Regions from separate parts of the Homo sapiens genome. Here all the other regions are linked to region 1. Evidence: promoter capture Hi-C in 16 types of primary human blood cells and fetal thymus (Javierre and others, 2016). All regions are on one chromosome and are shown on one strand. Each heading gives the region's core, a stretch centred on a gene start or on the middle of the fragment in contact. The rest is flanking DNA. Distances are from core to core; before and after follow the strand shown. Region 1 holds the start of MLLT10 (MLLT10 histone lysine methyltransferase DOT1L cofactor). Region 2 holds the start of RSU1 (Ras suppressor protein 1). Region 3 overlaps STAM (signal transducing adaptor molecule).

What was found. Contacts are between HindIII fragments. The CHiCAGO score rates a contact against its expected background, and 5 or more counts as called.
Region 2: a contact is called between the fragment with the promoter of RSU1 here and the fragment with the promoter of MLLT10 in region 1, in 2 of 17 cell types (fetal thymus and total CD4 T cells). The highest score is 5.7, in fetal thymus.
Region 3: a fragment that was not itself captured here is called in contact with the fragment with the promoter of MLLT10 in region 1 in 1 of 17 cell types (erythroblasts); the score reaches 6.5 in erythroblasts.

The regions. Positions count from the first base shown.
Region 1 is chr10:21,532,691-21,535,592 of GRCh38, forward strand. It overlaps MLLT10 (MLLT10 histone lysine methyltransferase DOT1L cofactor), which reads left to right and starts at 1,542. Exons shown (of 23, transcript NM_001195626.3): 1 at 1,542-1,830; 2 at 1,955-2,114. The coding sequence starts at 1,955. RefSeq lists enhancers at 1,111-1,824, 2,540-2,902 and silencers at 1,190-1,719, 1,730-1,799, 1,910-2,249, 2,390-2,479. The HindIII fragment of the contact is 10,036 bases long and covers 1-2,902 here.
Region 2 is chr10:16,816,045-16,818,946 of GRCh38, forward strand. It overlaps RSU1 (Ras suppressor protein 1), which reads right to left and starts at 1,380. Exons shown (of 9, transcript NM_012425.4): 1 at 1,271-1,380; 2 at 929-1,040. The coding sequence starts at 1,037. LOC105376435 (a long non-coding RNA gene) reads left to right here and starts at 1,655. Exons shown (of 3, transcript XR_930708.3): 1 at 1,655-1,712; 2 at 2,637-2,698. RefSeq lists enhancers at 859-1,018, 1,689-1,798, 1,829-1,918, 1,949-1,998. The HindIII fragment of the contact is 3,392 bases long and covers 1,311-2,902 here.
Region 3 is chr10:17,655,892-17,658,793 of GRCh38, forward strand. The region is part of intron 1 of STAM (signal transducing adaptor molecule); the gene reads left to right. Among named protein-coding and RNA genes, the nearest start is that of STAM, 13 kb to the left of the region's middle. The HindIII fragment of the contact is 1,224 bases long and covers 936-2,159 here.

The sequences.
Region 1 (2,902 bases), core at 292-2,791:
TTTTAGTGTATATTTTAATTGCCATTACTTTGTATATCTCAGCTTTTAAAACATCTGAATTTGCTATATATGCTCTCATTGTGCTGTATACCTATTATCACTCTTACACAGATTTCTAGCAATTAATTTGAAATAGAAAAACAGCCATGATACCTTTTCTAACCCCCCTTTATCAGAAGAACATTTAGAAGGCTTTTAAAGCCCAAACCATTATATTATCTTTTGGCGACCGACTAGGAGAACTTGGGTTCTCTATGCTTTAGCACTGTGAAAGTGCATCTTCCAGATCAGCACATTTATAATGCGAATTGCTGATAAAGAACCATTTTGTACCTGCAAGGTATTAATCAAAAGTCATGAATTCGCCTTTTAACTGGGCTTGTCATTTAAACAATCTATGCATAATTCTGATTTCATGCGAAACTTTTCTAATTAGACATTTTTTGCTTAAACATCAATATTGGGCTTTACGGATGCATAAGGAATAGGCAGACAGTGGAAGATTTTAGTTTAAAAGTGCTCAGCATCCAGCTAATTAATCTATGCAGATAGGCCTAATCCATTTTCCATTTGTTTGTGAGGTGGGAGCTCTCATCTTTCTGCCACTTTTAAATGACCTCACATTTCCAAGTATAAATTTGGAGAAAAGACCCGGATCAGAGGAATCCTCCATCAAAACTGGACGCCACTGTCTGATGGCGTTAATTATGTTTTAGCGACTGACTAGGAGGGCTAGAGTTCCTTCTTCCTTTTGGTGTAATACAACTGCATTTTCCGGATCATCGTATTATATTGCTAATTCCGGATAAACCACCATTTGTCCTGCACACCGAGCTGAGGGGCGCCTTGGCGTTCCCTCTCCGAGTGCAGCCCTAACACAGGCTTTTGACCTTCAGCCTGGAATACACTTTCGTTTGTCATTGGGGCCCACGTAGTGCGAAAATGGGCGGCAGATTTGGTAGGACTTCCAGCGGGTGAACTTTGGGAAGAGTCCAGGACGTGAATTTAATGGGTGGAGTGGCTGCGGCAGCACTGTGAAGTTAGCGCGGCCAACTGCAGGAAGCCATGCTTCATTACACCCTTCATGGAAGCTGGCACACTCGCCCCACCCTCGTTTTCCACGGGCCAGTCTTGGAGGAAAAGGCCAGCAGGTAGGTTCCCAGGGCACGGAGATGATGCCCCCGGGGACTCCCCTCTGGCGATTCTGAGAAAACCCCTTCCCAGCCCTGGGCGTCCACCTCCCCCGCCACCTCCCAGGCCTCTTCCCGACGCTCACACGCGGCCCGCGCCACCAGCGCTGCAGAGGGCGGCCCTAACGTCCCCGCCCCCGCGTGCGCGCCCCCGCGCCCGTTCATTCCGGCCTCCGCGCGCCGCCGGCTCCCCTCGCGCCCACCCCCAGCACACCTCGGCGGCGGCGAGCGGCGCGGGGGAGGGGGACGGGGCCCCGGAGGTAGGCCGGGGGCAGCCAACAGGCCGCGGCAGCGCGCACGCAGGGCTAGCCTCGCCCAGGCCTCCTCCCTCACGCCGGCCGCAGGACGGGCGCGCACGCCAAGTGACGCTCCGAGGAGGAAGCGCAGCCCCCTTCCCCTCCCTCGCTGCCCCTGGCCCAGCGGGAGCCCCCCCTCCCCCCAGTGCGCCTGTGCGGAGGCCCTCTTGATTATGTGTGCCCTCTCCGGGCGCCCGCGTTAGCGGCCGGGTGGAGGTGGGGAGGGAAGACGCTGAGGAGGAGGAGGAGGCGGAGGAGGCGGTGGAGGGGAGGTGGGGGGAATCAGCAAGGACATGGCTCCTGACTCCTGTGCGGAACGTGAGTGACTGAGCGGCAAAGCCCGAGTGAGCGAGCGGTGGGCTGCCGGGCCGGGCGGGGGGCGCCGGGGCGGGCTCGGGGGGCTGTGTGGGGGGGAAGCACTAATCGGCTTGCATGTGTTTTTTAATGGTCCCCCCAACTCCCTCTTAGATGGTCTCTAGCGACCGGCCCGTGTCACTGGAGGACGAGGTCTCCCATAGTATGAAGGAGATGATTGGAGGCTGTTGCGTTTGCTCAGACGAGAGAGGCTGGGCCGAGAACCCGCTGGTTTATTGCGACGGGCACGGCTGCAGCGTCGCGGTGCATCAAGGTAAACACCCAACCGCCCGCCGGGGCGCGCCGGCCTGCGCCCAACGGTCACCGCCGCCCCCACCTGGGCCGCAACCGCCGGCGCCCCCGCCCCGTGCCGCGGCCGCGGGAGGGACGCGGAGGGTCCGCGGCGGGGCGCGGGGGGTGTGGGCCGCGCATGTGGGAGAAAGTGCGTGTGGCCCGGACTGTCATGTGATTCCGCTCTCACTCTCTCAAGTGTCATTCGGCCGCCGCCTGCGCCTGGGGCCGGGGTCTGCTGACTCGGCGGGGCGGGGCGGGGCAGGGCGGCGGCCGCGCCCTCGAGATCTGGGCCGGGGTGGGGGCGGGGGCGGGGGCGGGGGCGGTGCGCGCCCTTCCCGGGGTTCCCGGGGCCACGGGGGTGGGTTTGGGAGAGTGGAGCGCCCTCTTCTCCCCTGGCCTGCAGCCGCCTGTCTGCCGCAGTGTTTGGAGACTTCCTGTGGCGTGGAGACGGGCTCGGGAACGCGGCGCCAGTGTGGGGAGGCTGGGGGTCGCCTTGCCTCTTTAGATGGGGAGGGATGCGGGGCCCGTTGCACCCCGAGCCAGAAGGCTCGGGCCCTGCCGCCGCCGCCCGGTAGCTGTCTGCGGAGGAGATGGCGGAGTCCGTTGCTGACCATGCGGGAGTGGCGGGGCTGCTGCAGCGCCTGTGGGGTGGCCGCGGCAGGCCACCACCAGCCTAGGTGGCTGAAGAGGTGGCGGTGCCAAGTCACTTTTGGGGAGCCTCTTAGTTTATTTCTGGTTGTTAACAATTGATGAGGTTTTTGGATATAC
Region 2 (2,902 bases), core at 130-2,629, 4.7 Mb before region 1:
CTGGAGAAGTGCGGAGAGGGTTTAAACCAAAGCCACGTCAGCCTGAAGAACTGCTTTAGCTCACTTATCACAGGTTTTTCAAATATTAGAATTAGTAGCCAACATCTAAAAATTAGCAAATTTCACATAAAAATATAGAATCTTGGTTCCTTTAAGAAAATAATCTGGCACATTGGGCCAACATTCCTATGGTGACATGTGTCTGAGTAGCAGGTGCAGCAGCTGGCCCCTTCAAGTGGGACACCTATCACCTAGTTCATAACCGCCCCTGACCGCCCTCACTTGGAGGCATGTGAATCTGCAATCCCTGGTTTTAAGGGAGAGGGTAACACCATAGACAGGGGTTACAGGAAAATGACACTGAAAGTGACCCAGTGATTAAACTGGGCAGTGAAACTGAAGGCAAGAGGGCAAGTTAGGAGGATTTCACCACAGCATGAGGAGGTGACAAAAGCCTGAACCAAGTTCGGAGAATAAATACTCAGAAGAATGTAAAGATTCAAGAAATGCTTAAAACGCTCCAGGCACAAGAATGCTTATTAACCATGGAACTTTTCTGTGTCATTTGTTCATGGACAAAGACTGTATTAGGAGACAGGAAGAAGGACTCAAAATTAATTTTCAATTTATAATTAAAGTGACTATTAAGCAAACTGTGGAAAATCCACCTCAATGCCATACAGCAGAGACAACCGATGAGGCACAGCTGTCTGTGTGATTCTCATCGTGGACTCTCAGGATCGTTTTCCAGGTGGAACAGAACAAATCCTACTGCAAACCCTCTGCGCGAAGCCCCTGACAAGTGAGGTTTACAAGCAGGGGCTGGGGTCTAAACCAGTACAATCGCTCACAGCAGGACCAGCAGTGAATTGGCAAACTTAGAAAGCCTTCCAGCTCATCCACGGGAGAGTCCTGCCCGAGAACTCACAGAGGCCGTTGACATCCAGCATGTTGGAGATGCCCCGGTCACTCATGTCCACCTCGGGCTGGTTCTTCTCCCGGCTCTCCTCCACCAACTTCTTCAGAGACTTGGACATGGTCTGCACCGAACAACAACAAAGCACGTGGGCGATGACAGCAAGCGCAGAGGCGGAAAGGCAAGAGGCCTTCGCTGCCACTCTGAGGCTTCCCCAGGGTTGGAGCGGGTGGGCGTCCGAGGGCGTCCCAGGGGCTGGTCCGGGTGCGGGGAGGGGATGGAGTGGGAAGGGTTCAGCCCCGCTGCGGCCACGCAGCGAGAAGCAACCCCAAGTGCAACACCGCACACACTCACCACGGAAGGTAGCCCCTAAGACGATGGGCGTGCAACCACAAGCTTCGGCAGAACGCACTCCAGCTGCCCTCACTCCCTGCAACACCGGCACTGAACAGCGAACACGCCCTGTCTCGGCGCCCCGCGCAGGCGCACACAGCGCCGCTGCCAGCTCCACGCCCGACCCTACCCATATTAGGAGAACAGCTCTCCAGACGTGTCTCCAGGGCCAGGCTCCGCCCTTAAAAGTCTGTGGAAGAGGCTGGCTAATCACGTTCGTTATTCGGCTTCGAGACCCCGCCCCACGCTGAGGATAGTTTATCCCGGTGGCGTCCACCCCACGGTTTGGGACGCTGATTGGGCCGAAGTTGGCGCGTGCGCAGTAGACTTGGCGCAAGCTCAGTTGATGGGTCGAAGCCCAGAGGGCTGTGGGCGGAAGTGGGGAAGTTTGTGGCGTGACTGTGTAAGGGAGGGTGGTGGCTCAGGGTGGGTGTTGCGAAAGCTGGAAGTAAATTGCTTCCGAATGTTTCGCTTGTGTAATAGCCGCTCCACTCGCCAGAAGTTGCTACCCTGAGCCCGTCTCCACAATGTGCCTCTGAGGGACCTTGTGGGGCACGCAGTTTCCCGCCCTATTAAGAGCTTCTCCAGGCGGGGATTCCGGCGCGGTCTGCGTTTCCCCAGCGCCCTGCTGGAAATCTTTTTTGACAGGTTTCTAAGGCTGGCTTTTAGCCTTTTTACTTGTAGCTAGAACCTACAAGTAAAACCCTACTATTTTAAAAGTCATTTGAAAACACCACTAAAGCGATGTGTCTTTCCCAACTAGGACTTTTACATTTGTGAAACATGACGTTCTGGCTTCCAGGAATCTCTTGCTTTCTCTTCCAAAAGCAACCAAATTTTAAATTCTAGAGAAACTGTTGCCCTCTGCCTCCCTATTTCCTGACCCAGTCTCAGTCACCCAGCAACATCCTGTGCTTCTCTCACCAAAAACCCTGTCCTGAGAGACTATTTTATACTATGGAATAAAAATTGGCACCAGGCACTTTTCTTCTACTGGTCACCTAAATTGATGATAAGACGGATGCCACACATATGCATTTATATATTGTAGATTGTAGCAGGGATCAAAGCCTTAAGGAGATGTGGTAAAATAATGTAATTATATCTCCGAACCAATTGGATAAAAAAAGGATCTGCACTCTTAAATTCGAAAGCAGGTATTTCTTGCTTAAAAAACATTCCAGATGAAAGAGTTATTCCTCCATTAGTCTTCTTTGATCTGGAACCGTCCTTGGCTTTTATGTTTATTGAACTAGACATTATTTAAGAATACAGACCAGGTATTGTGTGGAATATCCTTCAAAGTAAGTTTGATGTTCCCTTTCAGGTTATGAATTTTTGGAGAAACACCACTAAAGCGATGTGTCTTTTCCAGTGCATGATATCAAGGTACAGATGGCATCGGTTTCTCCCAGTATAGGTGATGTTCACTTAAATAAGGTAGTGTCTGCCAGGTTTCTTCACCATAAAGTTACTATTTTTTTCTTTATGATTAAAAATAATGCTGGGGGGAGGTGCTACTTGATTACACCCCATTCCTCATCTAATTTTTACCCACAAGTTTTAGCATCCACTGATGATTTTCTAACTTCA
Region 3 (2,902 bases), core at 298-2,797, 3.9 Mb before region 1:
AGCTGTTGTTTTGAAATATAATGATTTTTTTAAAGTTTTTTTTCCTCCTACGTGTGTATTCTTTTTCTCTTAAGTTGCTTTTTTCTTTTTCTTTTTTTGGTCTTTTTCTTTATCTTCCACATTAGAAGGTAGTTTCCTCACGCCTGCAATCCCAGCACTTTGGGAGGCCAAGGTGGGTGAGTCACCAGGTCAGGAGATTGAGACCATCCTGGCTAACACAGTGAAACCCGTCTCTACTAAAAATACAAAAAAATTAGCTGGACGTTGTGGCATGTGCCTGTAGTCCCAGCTACTCAGGAGGCTGAGGCAGGAGAATTGCTTGGACCTGGGAGGTGGAGGTTGCAGTGAGCCGAGATCGCACCACTGCACTCCAGCCTGGGTGACAGAGCGAGACTCCGTCTTAAAAAAAAAAAAAAAAAAAAAGATAGTTTCAGATAGCTTGCTTGTTTGCCCATGGCTAATACTGGAGAAATCAAAAGCACATTGGAAGTTCTGATCATGTGGTTAGGTCTCATTGACTTTTAACTTCACTGTAGGTTGGTCTGGTGGGCCATTGACTATGGAATTCTGCCTCTCCACTCCTCCCCCTGCAATATTACTGTCTTTAGGTCTTTCCTCTTGGGCTGACATAGAGCCCCCAGAAAAGAGTCTTCTGATTTCTTGGAGGGTAACGGTACAAATGTTGAATCAGCCTTGCATACCTGGGATGAATCTTAATTGGTCATGGCATATGTAATTCTTTTTATACATTGTTGGATTCAGTTTGCTGATGTTTTTGTAATCGGTGGAAGGTATCTGAGTTACTGGCAGTGAGTCTGTATGGGTCTGCACCAATCTCAGTTCTTGCCTCCTCAGAAGAAAGAATTCATCTAAGGGGCGTAAGGCAGAAAAAGAGATGAAGCAAGTTTCAGAGCAGGAGTGGAAGTTTATTAAAAAGCTTTACAGCAGGAAAGAAAGGAAAGTGCCCTTGGAAGAAATCCAAGTGGGTGACTTGAAGAGTAAGTGCGGTTTTTAACTTTGATCCCAGGACTCTATAGGTTGGCCCCTTTCCTGTGATTCTTCCCTTAGAGTGGGCGGCCCACATGCGCAGTGCCCTCCTTATACTTGGGAGGTGAGCATGCACAGTGTGTTTAGAAAGTTGTATGCATGCCCATCGGAGGCTTTTTTCCCTTTTCTGGTGGAGTGCCCCAGGAAGGTCGTATACTGCCATTTTGTCTCTTAATGCCCCTGCCTGGGCTCACTCACTCAGTGCCTGAGATTTTATTGGAGCCCCCTTTTTTGCTTCTCCCTGGTGCCTGCATTCATTTAACACTTTAATGTTTAACACTTGTGGACTGTTAGGAGCTTCTCTCTCCTTGGTGCAAGCTGCCAATTTATCACTTTTAGAGAGGCAATGTGATAATTGCTGAATCACCCAACATTCCTAGTGGGTGTGGGAGAACCCTCTCCTGCCCTGCTCGTACCTGTCTTACTACCTGTAACATTTTGTTGAGGATTTTTGCATTTATGTTCATGAGAGATATTGGCCTATAGTTTTCTTGTAATGTTTTTGTCTGGTTTTGGTATCAGAGTAATGCTGGCCTCACAGAATGAGTTAGGAAGTATCTCCTCTGCTTCTATATACTGCAAGAGATTACACAGAATTAGTATAATTTCTTCCTTAAATATTTGGTAAAATTCACCAGTGAACCCATCTGGGCCTGTGCTTTCTGTTTTAGAAGATTATTAATTATTGATTCAGTTTTTTAAATAGATGTGGGCCATTTAGATTGTCTGTTTCTTGTATGTATTTCAGCAGATTATGTCTTTCAAGGCATTGGTCCATTTCATCTAGGTTATCAATTTTGTGGGCATAGAGTTGTTCATAATATTCCTTCATTTTCTTTTTAATGTCCATGGGGTTTGTAGTGATGTCCCTTCTTTCATTTCTGATATTAGTAATTGGTGTTTTCTCTCTCTTTTTTTTTTTTCCTTAGTTTAGCTTGGCTAGCAGCATATCGGTTTTATTGATCTTTTAAAATAACCAGCTTTTGGTTGTGCTGATTTTCTGTATTGGTCTTATGTTCAGATTCATTGGTTTCTGCTCTAATTTTTGTTGTTTGTTTTCTTCTGCTTGCTTAGTTTGGATTTAATTTGCTCTTCTAGTTTCCTAAGGTAGAAGCTTATTGATTTTAGATCTTGATTCTTTTTAAAAATATGTATTCAATGCTATAAATTTCCCTCTAACCACTGCTTTTGTTGCATCCCACAAATTTTGCGAAGTTGTATTTTCACTTAGTTCAAAGTATTTTAAAATTTCTTTTAAGTTTTTTTTTTACTCTTGTTTAAAAGTGTGTTAGTCTCCATGTACTTTGGGATTTTCCAGCTATCTTTCTGTTATTGATTTCTAGTTTATTCCATTGTAATCACTATGTGATTTCTATTGTTTTAGATTTGTCTTGGTTTGTTTTATGACCCAGAAGGTGGTCTGTCTTGGTGAATGCTGCATGAGAGCTTGGGAAGAATGTGTATTCTGTTGTTTTTGGATGAAGTAGTCTATAAATGTCAATTGTCAATTATATACAGTTGATTGATGGTGTTGTTGAGTTCAACTATGTCCTTTCTGATTTTCTGCCTACCTGACCTGTCCATTTCTTCTTTTTTTGGTCTTGCTCTGTCGCCCAGGCTGGAGTGCAGTGGTGCAATCTTGGTTCACTGCAACCTCCACCTCCCGGGTTTGAGTGATCCTCCTATCTCAGCCTCCTGAGTATGTTCAGCTAATTTTTGTATTTTTTTTGTAGAGGAGAGGTTTCGTCATGTTGCCCAGGCTGGTCTTGAACTCCTGGGCTCAAATGATCTGCCCACTTCGGCCTCCCAAAGTGTTGGGATTACAGGCAAAAGCCACTGTGCCTGGCCTCATCCT